Regions from separate parts of the Homo sapiens genome. Here region 2 is linked to region 1. The links are contacts of gene promoters, found by promoter capture Hi-C in blood cells and fetal thymus (Javierre and others, 2016). All regions are on one chromosome and are shown on one strand. The core of a region is centred on a gene start or on the middle of the fragment in contact, and the rest is flanking DNA. Distances in the headings are between cores, read along the strand shown. Region 1 holds the start of MC5R (melanocortin 5 receptor). Region 2 has its middle 76 kb from the start of ZNF519.

Evidence for each region. The method cuts DNA at HindIII sites, captures the fragments that hold promoters and counts their contacts. A CHiCAGO score of 5 or more calls a contact.
Region 2: a contact is called between a fragment that was not itself captured here and the fragment with the promoter of MC5R in region 1, in 1 of 17 cell types (megakaryocytes). The highest score is 5.1, in megakaryocytes.

The regions. Positions count from the first base shown.
Region 1 is chr18:13,821,588-13,826,262 of GRCh38, forward strand. It overlaps MC5R (melanocortin 5 receptor), which reads left to right and starts at 2,562. Exons shown (of 2, transcript NM_005913.3): 1 at 2,562-2,687; 2 at 4,140-4,675. The coding sequence starts at 4,179. RefSeq lists silencers at 2,231-2,411, 2,377-2,666, 2,677-2,766. The HindIII fragment of the contact is 16,860 bases long and covers 1-4,675 here.
Region 2 is chr18:14,053,910-14,058,584 of GRCh38, forward strand. It overlaps the pseudogene LOC100128776. Among named protein-coding and RNA genes, the nearest start is that of ZNF519, 76 kb to the right of the region's middle. The HindIII fragment of the contact is 1,504 bases long and covers 1,445-2,948 here.

The DNA of each region.
Region 1 (4,675 bases), core at 1,312-3,811:
TGTTTGGGAGAAAGTTTCCAATGACAGGAACAGTTGAAGAGCTTAGTCTCTATTCTCTTAACTCTATTAACCTTAATTCAATTATTTTCCTGCAAGAAACCGAGAATTCCTACATCACCTAAGGTGTTTCAGAATATAAAAATAATCAAAATATTTCCCCAGTTTATTAAACAAAGTTAGGGTAACTTATATACCAAAATCTGATAAAGACAGTATGAAGACAGGAACACTGCACATCAAATCCAGCAGCATTTTAAAAGAATAATGCCCGGTGGCACCAGGGCTCTCAGGGAGGCTGCGTCCTGCCGGGGAAAGTGCTTGGGCTCTGAGTCAGTCGGGGCTCAGCTCTCTAGCGCTGGAAGCTGGAGCTTGCTAAGTCACCTCTCCCAGCACCGGCTCCTTCCATTGCGAGAGGAGAAACCCACTTCTAGGGTTTCGTAAAGGTTGAGGAAGGTAATTCCTGTGCAGCACTCAGGGTCACCCCTGCACATAGGGCCCCTGGGCCAGCCGCCCTCACCACTGTGGGAGGCCGCCTGCTGTGGTCCAGCTGCTCATCTTGCACAGAGCCCTCCATTTTGAGCACTTTCCTGGGACACCAGGACCTTTTGCAGAGCCCTCTCTGATCTGATCTTGGATGTGAGGACTATATGTGGGAGTGCTTGACCCTGCTGATGTTTTCAACACACGGAAATGGGTTCCCTCCCTCACACCACATTCCCAATATGTATTCTCAACATTCAGAACCTCCTTCTAGAATTCCACCCTGTGGCTCCCAGCACGGCTTGGGACTCCAGTGGCGTGAGGCCAGCCAGACTGTGGTCCCCACACTTGAAATACTGGAAGGTTGTGATCATCTGCAAAGCCCAAGGAAAGCTCTGGTAGTGATATGGCCCCGTGCATCCTGCCCTGGCTTGCAGGGCAGTGGCACTTCTGCTTATTGTGAGTATAATGATTCTTTTGGGGGTTGAAGGTCAGTTTTAGGTGTCAGAGAAGGAGTGGGGTCCAGAAACTATTGCGAAAGGCCAGGATATTTGGTGAGAGGACATCCTTTGTTCTTTTTTGCTGGAGTAAGGAAAGCCTGTGTGGTTGATAAAGCCTGGCATGGCATGTGTAGTCCTGGAGGAGGGGTGAGAGCCTTGGGCAAAGAGGGGCGTGGTAGGGCCACAGATGAGGGCTCCCAGGCACTGGGCCTCCTTCCCAAAGAACAATCATCAGGACATCCCAGAGACCACTGTCCAGGAGAAACGGGGTGACAAGCCCTCTTTGAGCTCGGGAGCATTTTAATCAGTGCTCAAGAGGAAGAGAAAAGAAACAAAAAGTGCAACCAGCCAGAAAAACAACCAAGCAGCTACCCACCCAACCACCCATCCACCCACCCACTGACCCAACCAACCACTCCCCCACCCAACCACCTATCCATCCACCCACCGACCCAACCAACCAACCAACCAACCACCCACACAACCACCCATCCACCCAACCCACTGACCCAACCAACCAAACCAAGCAACCACCCACCCAACCACCCATCCACCCACCCACTGACCCAACCAACCTAGCAACCACTCACCCAACCACCCATCCATCCACCCACTGACCCAGCCAACCAACCAACCAACCAACCACCCTCCCAACCACCCATCCACCCACCCACTGACCCAACCAACCAACCAAGCAACCACCCACCCAACGACCCACCCACCCACCCACTGACCCAACCAACCAACCAAGCAACCACCCACCACCCACCCACCCACTGACCCAACCAACCAACCAAGCAACCACCCACCTACCCAACCAACCCCCACTTACCCAATCAACCAACCAAGCAACCATCCACTCACCCAACCAACCACCCACCCACCCAAGCAACCAATCAACGAACCAAGCAACCACCCACCTACCCAACCAACTACCCCCCACCCACCCAAGCAAGCGAGCAAGCGAGCAAGCAACCAAGTAACCATCTACTCACTCAACCAAGCAACCACCCACCTACCCAACCAACCAATCAACCAACCAAGCAACCACCCACCTACCCAACCAACCAATCAACCAACCAAGGAACCACCCACCTACCCAATCAACGAACCCCCCACCCAACCAGCCAAGCAACCAAGTAACCATCCACTCACCTAACCAATCAACCAATCAACCAATCAGGCAACCACCCACCTACCCAACTAACTAACCCGTAACCACCCAACCAACCAAGCAAGCAACCACCTGCTCACCCAACCAACCAATCACCAAACAAGCAACCACCCACCCACCCACTCAACCAACCAACTACCCAACCAAGCAACCACTCACCCAACCAACCATTCAACCGACCGACCGACCGACCGACCGACCCACCGACCCGACCGACCAACCAACCAACCAAGCAACCATCCAACCATTCAAGAGTGTGTTCGGGGGGATTTTCGCTCGGGGCTGACGCGGTTCTCTGGCCGCTGTGCCGTGCTGGGCCACTAGGTGGCAGCGGAGGCCGCCCGGAGCGACAGCCGGCGGTGCGGAGGCGGGCCCGGCGCGGGCAGGCAGGAGGCTTAAAGCCCCGCAGAGCCGCAGCCGCCTAGCTGGGGGAGAGGCCCGTCCGGGGCTGGCTCTGAGCGCCGCACGGCCGTCGGATCCCGGGGACGCCGGGGGCCCGGGCTGAGCGCCGCGGCCCGCGAGGAGGAGCACCGGTAAATAGCCACAACTTTCTATCTCCTTGAGATCCTGAGAATAAATGCAAAATCGCGCTTCCGCTGCATGTGGAAGTGAGCGGGGCGGCAGCTAGCTTGCCCCGTGAGTTTTTAACACAGCTCGATATGATGTTTAGTATAATTGCATAATTTACCGATATATCTGAGCTGGAACTCAGCTGTAACAAATGATTGTAGTTCAATAAATGCTTAGATTACCAATTTTTTCCTTTTTTATTTTTATAGATTTAGGGGGTACAGGTGCTGTTTTGTTATATGGATGTATTGCATAGTGGTGGAGACTGGGCTTTTAGTGTAGCCATCACCCCTATAGTGTACATTGTACCTATTAAGTAATTTGTTGTCCCTCACCCCCTCCCTCCCTCCCAAAGTGATTACAAATATTAATGATGACAGTGATGACAGAAATTCTCTCCAGATGTGATCTGAGTTTGGAGGGCAAAGGGATTTTTGAAAATGAATCATAAGAGAGAAATTTTGCAACAAAGGAGTGTGGTACATTTAAATTGCTGTTTTTTTTTTTAAATACTGTGCTCACGCGGACCTAATAAACTATCAAGCAGACCTCATGGAATTCCACATAATGCAGAAGCGAGGGAAAAATAGGTATTGAGGGAAAAGCAGCACTGTTTTCCTCAATTTTAACACGTATGTGCAGCCTACACTTACAAACTTAAGACAGTAGCTTTTAACATGTGACTTTGCTCAGGGTAACAGACCATTCTGGTTATAGCCTTACTTACAGCTGTGGAGGCTGAATCCTGATGGGTCTAAGAAGTGTCAGGACAAGTGTTAGGGATGCACCTGTCTGTCTGTCTTAAGGGAATACGGGTCTGGGCAGTCTTAAATCGGAGCTCCCTTGAGGAGAATGTCGTGCAGTAGCCTTAGGAATGTGAACATTGGGAGACTGGCTGGGATTTTGTAGGTTATGAGTTGGGGACACTTATGATAGTGAACTTGAGCCCAGGAGAGAAGCCATAAAAAGTGAAACTGTCCTGGGCACTTGGAGGTGAGTGTCTCTCTAGTAAGATGCATGTGAAAGGCTGGGAGCTGAAAGCAAGGAGAGCAGAAGAGGCTGGTGAAGATTCTAATCTGCGTGTCCAGGGGCACTCTTCCAGGTCTCAGGAACGCAGGTCAGAATGTGCAAGCCAGCTGCCGGGCACGTGGCTCACCCCTGTAGTACCAGCACTTTGGGAGGCTGAGAGAGAAGATCGCTTGTGGCCAGGAGTTTGAGACCAGACTGGGCAACATAGGGAGACCCTGTCTCTTAAAAAAAAAAAAAAAAAAGGACTGAGTGAGCCGAGCCCAGTCCTCTGATGCACTGTGTCATTCATCCCCTTTCTTAGGCTGTGTTGGTTCTAGGCTAGCTGCTGTCTTTCTTTGGTAGGCTGCTAACCTCTTTGGATTGTGAATTTAAAACATGTTTTACAGTAAATTTGCTGCCAAGACAAGAGGTGTATTTCTCCAGCAATGAATTCCTCATTTCACCTGCATTTCTTGGATCTCAACCTGAATGCCACAGAGGGCAACCTTTCAGGACCCAATGTCAAAAACAAGTCTTCACCATGTGAAGACATGGGCATTGCTGTGGAGGTGTTTCTCACTCTGGGTGTCATCAGCCTCTTGGAGAACATCTTGGTCATAGGGGCCATAGTGAAGAACAAAAACCTGCACTCCCCCATGTACTTCTTCGTGTGCAGCCTGGCAGTGGCGGACATGCTGGTGAGCATGTCCAGTGCCTGGGAGACCATCACCATCTACCTACTCAACAACAAGCACCTAGTGATAGCAGACGCCTTTGTGCGCCACATTGACAATGTGTTTGACTCCATGATCTGCATTTCCGTGGTGGCATCCATGTGCAGCTTACTGGCCATTGCAGTGGATAGGTACGTCACCATCTTCTACGCCCTGCGCTACCACCACATCATGACGGCGAGGCGCTCAGGGGCCATCATCGCCGGCAT
Region 2 (4,675 bases), core at 947-3,446, 230 kb after region 1:
AATCAACCCATCAGGACACCTGCTGCATGGAGGTTGTGAGCACTGAGGTGCTGAAGAGGCTCTCACTCTGTCTAAGAGAGTGTCCCGAGCAAGACAAGCAGTCCTAGATGCCCAGATTCTTGTTTTGGCTTCGGATCTGGGCAAAGGGAAAGCAAAGCAGCTGTGCTCAGATCTGAACTTGTTGGACATGTTGTGTTGAAACTTTACTGACATGTATGGGTGTAAATCTGCCAGAAGCTGAAGAACTCATCCGTGATGAAGATAGCTCTGATTTGAATTCATAGTCTATGACTCCTGGAAAATATCAGGCAAAAGAGCAGAAAACACCTTTAATCAAGCCCATACACTCCACTCTCTGTTGGATTCAACACAAGGAGAGTTCCTTGTGCCAAAGTCCCAAATCATTAGTCCAAGAAAACTTCCTATGATACAAAAGGAGACGATAATGCCTGCCCAGTTAAAAAGAAGGGAAGAATCTCATCAAGAAACAACAAAGAAAGAAGTAGAAAGAATCTTGGGATTGTTGCAGTTGTATATTCGAGATGCTACCCAGCGTCCTTCTTTGCCTTTGTGGTTGATCCACAATCTTTCCCCCAAACAGTGGAAAACATCTTTCATGTTTCCTTCATTATACAGGATGGTTTTGCAAGAGTAAAACCTGACCAAGACCGACTGCAAATAATAGAGCCTGTTAATATTAATGAAGAAAGTGAGGAAATTCACCAAAACACCCAAGTTAGGAATCGAGGAATTCTAGCTGTGAGGTACCCTGACTGGGAGGAGATTGTGAATACCTTTGAGATTTCAAAGCCTGGGATTACTCCAAGTCAGAGACAGCAGAGGCTAAGTGCTTGACGCTAGCTGAAGGACTCAAATGGATAGTGAAGTCCAAGAGGGAAAGAAGCATGTATTATATACAGTGTATGATTCAACATTTAAAAAGACAGATTGTTTTTAGTAAAATGTAGCTTTTGATATTTAATGAATTTGTCATGGTTGTTTTTGATTACAGGAAATTCACTGCCATATTAAAAAAAAAAAGCTGCCACACTTTTTTCCCATAGTGGCTATATCATTTTAAATAAATTACCACCAGCAATATGAGTGATCCAGTTTCTCCACATGCTCACCAGTATTTGGTACATTTTCCGTATTTTGCTTAAAGCATTCTGGTAAATTTGCCATAATATTGCAGTATGATTTCAATTTGCATCTCCGAGAAATAGCTAACATATTTTCATGTGGATACTTGCCATCTCCATCTCCTCCTCAGGGAAATGTCACTTCACATCTGTTACCTAATGTAATTGAGTTTTTCCCCACTGTGGCATTCGGAGTGTTTTTCACATGTTCTGGATACTACCCTTTGTCAGATATGCAGCTGGCCAATACTTCCTTACGTCTGTAGTATGTTACTTTATCCCTTTAAAGGGGACTTCCACAAAGCTTAGTTTTCTAATTTTGATGAATTCCAATTTACTCTTTGGTTGCTTTCTCTCTCTCTCTTTCTCTGTCAAGGAGAACTTTGGAAAACACTGTTATATATTTTGTAGGAATGTAAGATTAAACTTTATTTCTAAGACATATTTTCTTTCCATTAAAAAAACAAGGTTTTACTGAAAAATTTAAAACTAATTTATGTATTTACATGTATTTTTAATTACCTATACTACTAGAAGGCACTTTTCAAATAAGTATCAGTATTTTAAGAATGTAAAAGAAAAAATTAAACATGCTGAATAAAAATTTATAGTTAAAATCTATCCCATCCCTAATATACAGGAGTTTGAATATAAATTAGTAAAGTTTTAGTCTAAAATGACTAGATAGTATAATAATATCTATCTTGAGAACTGATACAGCAAGTAAATGAAAATCAGTTTATAAAGAGAATGGAGTAGGGGACCTAATGTCATTTAAGCCTCTCTTGTTTTACAGAAAATCAATTTTTGTAAGTCACCAAATAAAAAATAAACATACTAAGAAGAATGTTTCTCCATTACATTGTAAAGAAAACAATCTTCTGAGCTGGAGGACTGTAAGACCTGGATGTGTAACCTGAGACTATCAAAATAACTCATTTGTAGACCATTTGACTTCCTTCCACAGCCCGCCTAGCATGTACAAACACCCACTGATTGAAAATCTGTGGAATAGTCACTTTCAAGTAAAAGAGGCGCACATGAAGGTGTACAATGTGATTTTTGTAATTTTTATGAAGTTGAAGAACTGTCAAAAATGATGTATAAAATAAAAATCAAAACAGGGCTGTGTATGGTAGAGTGGGTGGGCCTGTCTGAAATGTCAGAGGGGATTTTCTGTGCTGATATGATCCATATATTAATAGGGCTGTTGGATACTGTAAGGAATATAAAGTTATAAAAATCTGTAAAGTCATTGACAGATAACATCTGCACATTTCACTATAGTTTAATTTTGTGTTAAGATAAAACAATAAGATGGAAAGGAGAATGATCATCAAATTGTAATGGAGATAAGTATATTTCATTCACAAATTTCCCCTGCCAGTGACCATAAAATTGACCAATCCAGAATGCTAGCTACTAGTAGGGTTCGAGGCAGAATGTTGGGGTGTACCTTGGGGTTTGTTGTGGCAGCTGGACCCACGGTTACTGGGCAGAGCTCTGTGGTGGCTGCAGTGCCATGGAGAGTCTGAGATCCTCTGTGGACCTGGGCCCTGGACTGACCCTTCAGAAGCTGGGCAAGGTGGTGGTGGAGCTCCTGCCACATGATCTCAGTCCACAACTCACTGTCCACAAACTCCAGGTGGAGACACTGGTGTGTTTGCCTCTCATCGGGTTATTGGTGGGTCTCATGGTTTTATTGAGGCTTGTTCAGTCTGTTAGGGGTCAACTTTGTGTAAAGCGTGGAAACAACTGTGGAAACACTAAATTCACAGATTGAAAAGAAATGCCAACTCACTAACAAGCTTAGTGCTACCAGTAAGGAGTTTGCAGAGATTGAATTATCTTTAGAGAATGTCAGGGTAGATAGAGTCTTTAAATATACCCAGACTTAGGATACTTAAAAAAAAAATGAGGAGCACCAACTTGATGCTGATGGAGGAATTCAATTCTCTGTTTCGAGAATTGAAAGAGAGATCCAAACTCTCCAAGCAATAAGAGGCAAAGGAGGAGATGCCAAAAATGGTGGAGTCTGTAGAAGAGGTCATGAGATAAGTATATTTCATTCACAAATTTCCCCTGTCTGTGACCATAAAATTGACCAATCCAGAATGCCAGCTACTAGGAGGGTTCCAGGCAGAATGTTGGGGTGTCCCTTGGGGTTTGTGGCAGCTGGACCCATGGTTACTGGGCAGAGCCCATCACAAGGGGCTTTTCTAAACCTGCTTGGAGGAGAAGCACCAAATCCTGCTGCTCTCTTCTCAGGAGTGGACGTGGGTCTTAAATCCGTGCTGCTCCCTCCCCTCCCCTTGGGCCTCATGGGCTGCCAGGCTGCGTATACCCACCTTGACTCCTTCTGAGGGTCACTGAGGCCAGTTGGTTCAGGGGAGCTCCTCACTGGGCTGGAATTCCTCCACCTTCACATGCTGTTCATAGCAGTCAGCTTCTTCACGGTAAACTCCTTCAAATATAAAGAATATAGGAGATCCTGCAACATGTCAAGAAATGTGTGACTTTCTTTCCTTTCACAGAGAGTTTGGATTCTTTCTCATTAGCAGTGAAAGAAATGCTGTACTTGAGAGCCTAATCTTTTATTCAAATTGAAGCATCATCCAACTACATTTCTCAGTATAATGCTCTGTAAATATTCATAAATTAATAATTGAACAATTCCTATTTTATTCTCTAAATAGTTACACTTTAAAAATACAAGCAGTTTTCAATCAAGACTTTATCAATTTTTTAAATTATATTCCCAACCGTTATAAATCACAAGTTAGAGCATCATTTTTTGACCTCAGTATATATTCATATTTTAAAAGTTAATAAATATATTTTGGGATAAAGTGGAAGGGTATGCTTAGAAAGTTAAATTAATTAATATTTATATTCAAATATAATAACAAATATTTTTAAGAATGATCTCATCATCCAGGTACTGAGCACAGTACCCAATAGTTAGTTTTTCAACCCTTGCTGCCTCCCTCCCACCTCTAGTTGTCATTGGTTTCTACTGCTGCCTTCTTTATTTCCATGAGTACCCAATGTTTAGCTCTCACTTATAAATGAGAAAATGTGGCATTTGGTTTTCTGTTCTTGCATTAACTCACTTAGGATAATGGCCACCAGCTGCATCCGTGCTGCTGCAGAGGACATGATTTTGTTCTCTTCTGTGGTGTGTAGTATTGCATGGTGCTTATGTATCACATTTTCTTTATCCAGTCCACCACTGATGAGCACTGAGGTTGATTCTATTCTTTGTTGTTGTGAATACTGCTGCAATGAACATGCAAGTGCATGTGTCTTTTTGGTAGAACAATTTGTTTTCTTTGGGATACAAGCCCAGTAATGGGATTGTTCGGTGAAAATATACTTCTGTTACAGATTCTTTTAGAAATCTCCAAACTGATTTTCACAGTAGATGAACTAATTTACACTCCCACCAACAATGTATAAACATTCCCTTTTCTCCACTGCCTTACCAGGATCTTTTTTTTTTTTTTTTTTTGACTTTTTGATAGTAGCCATTC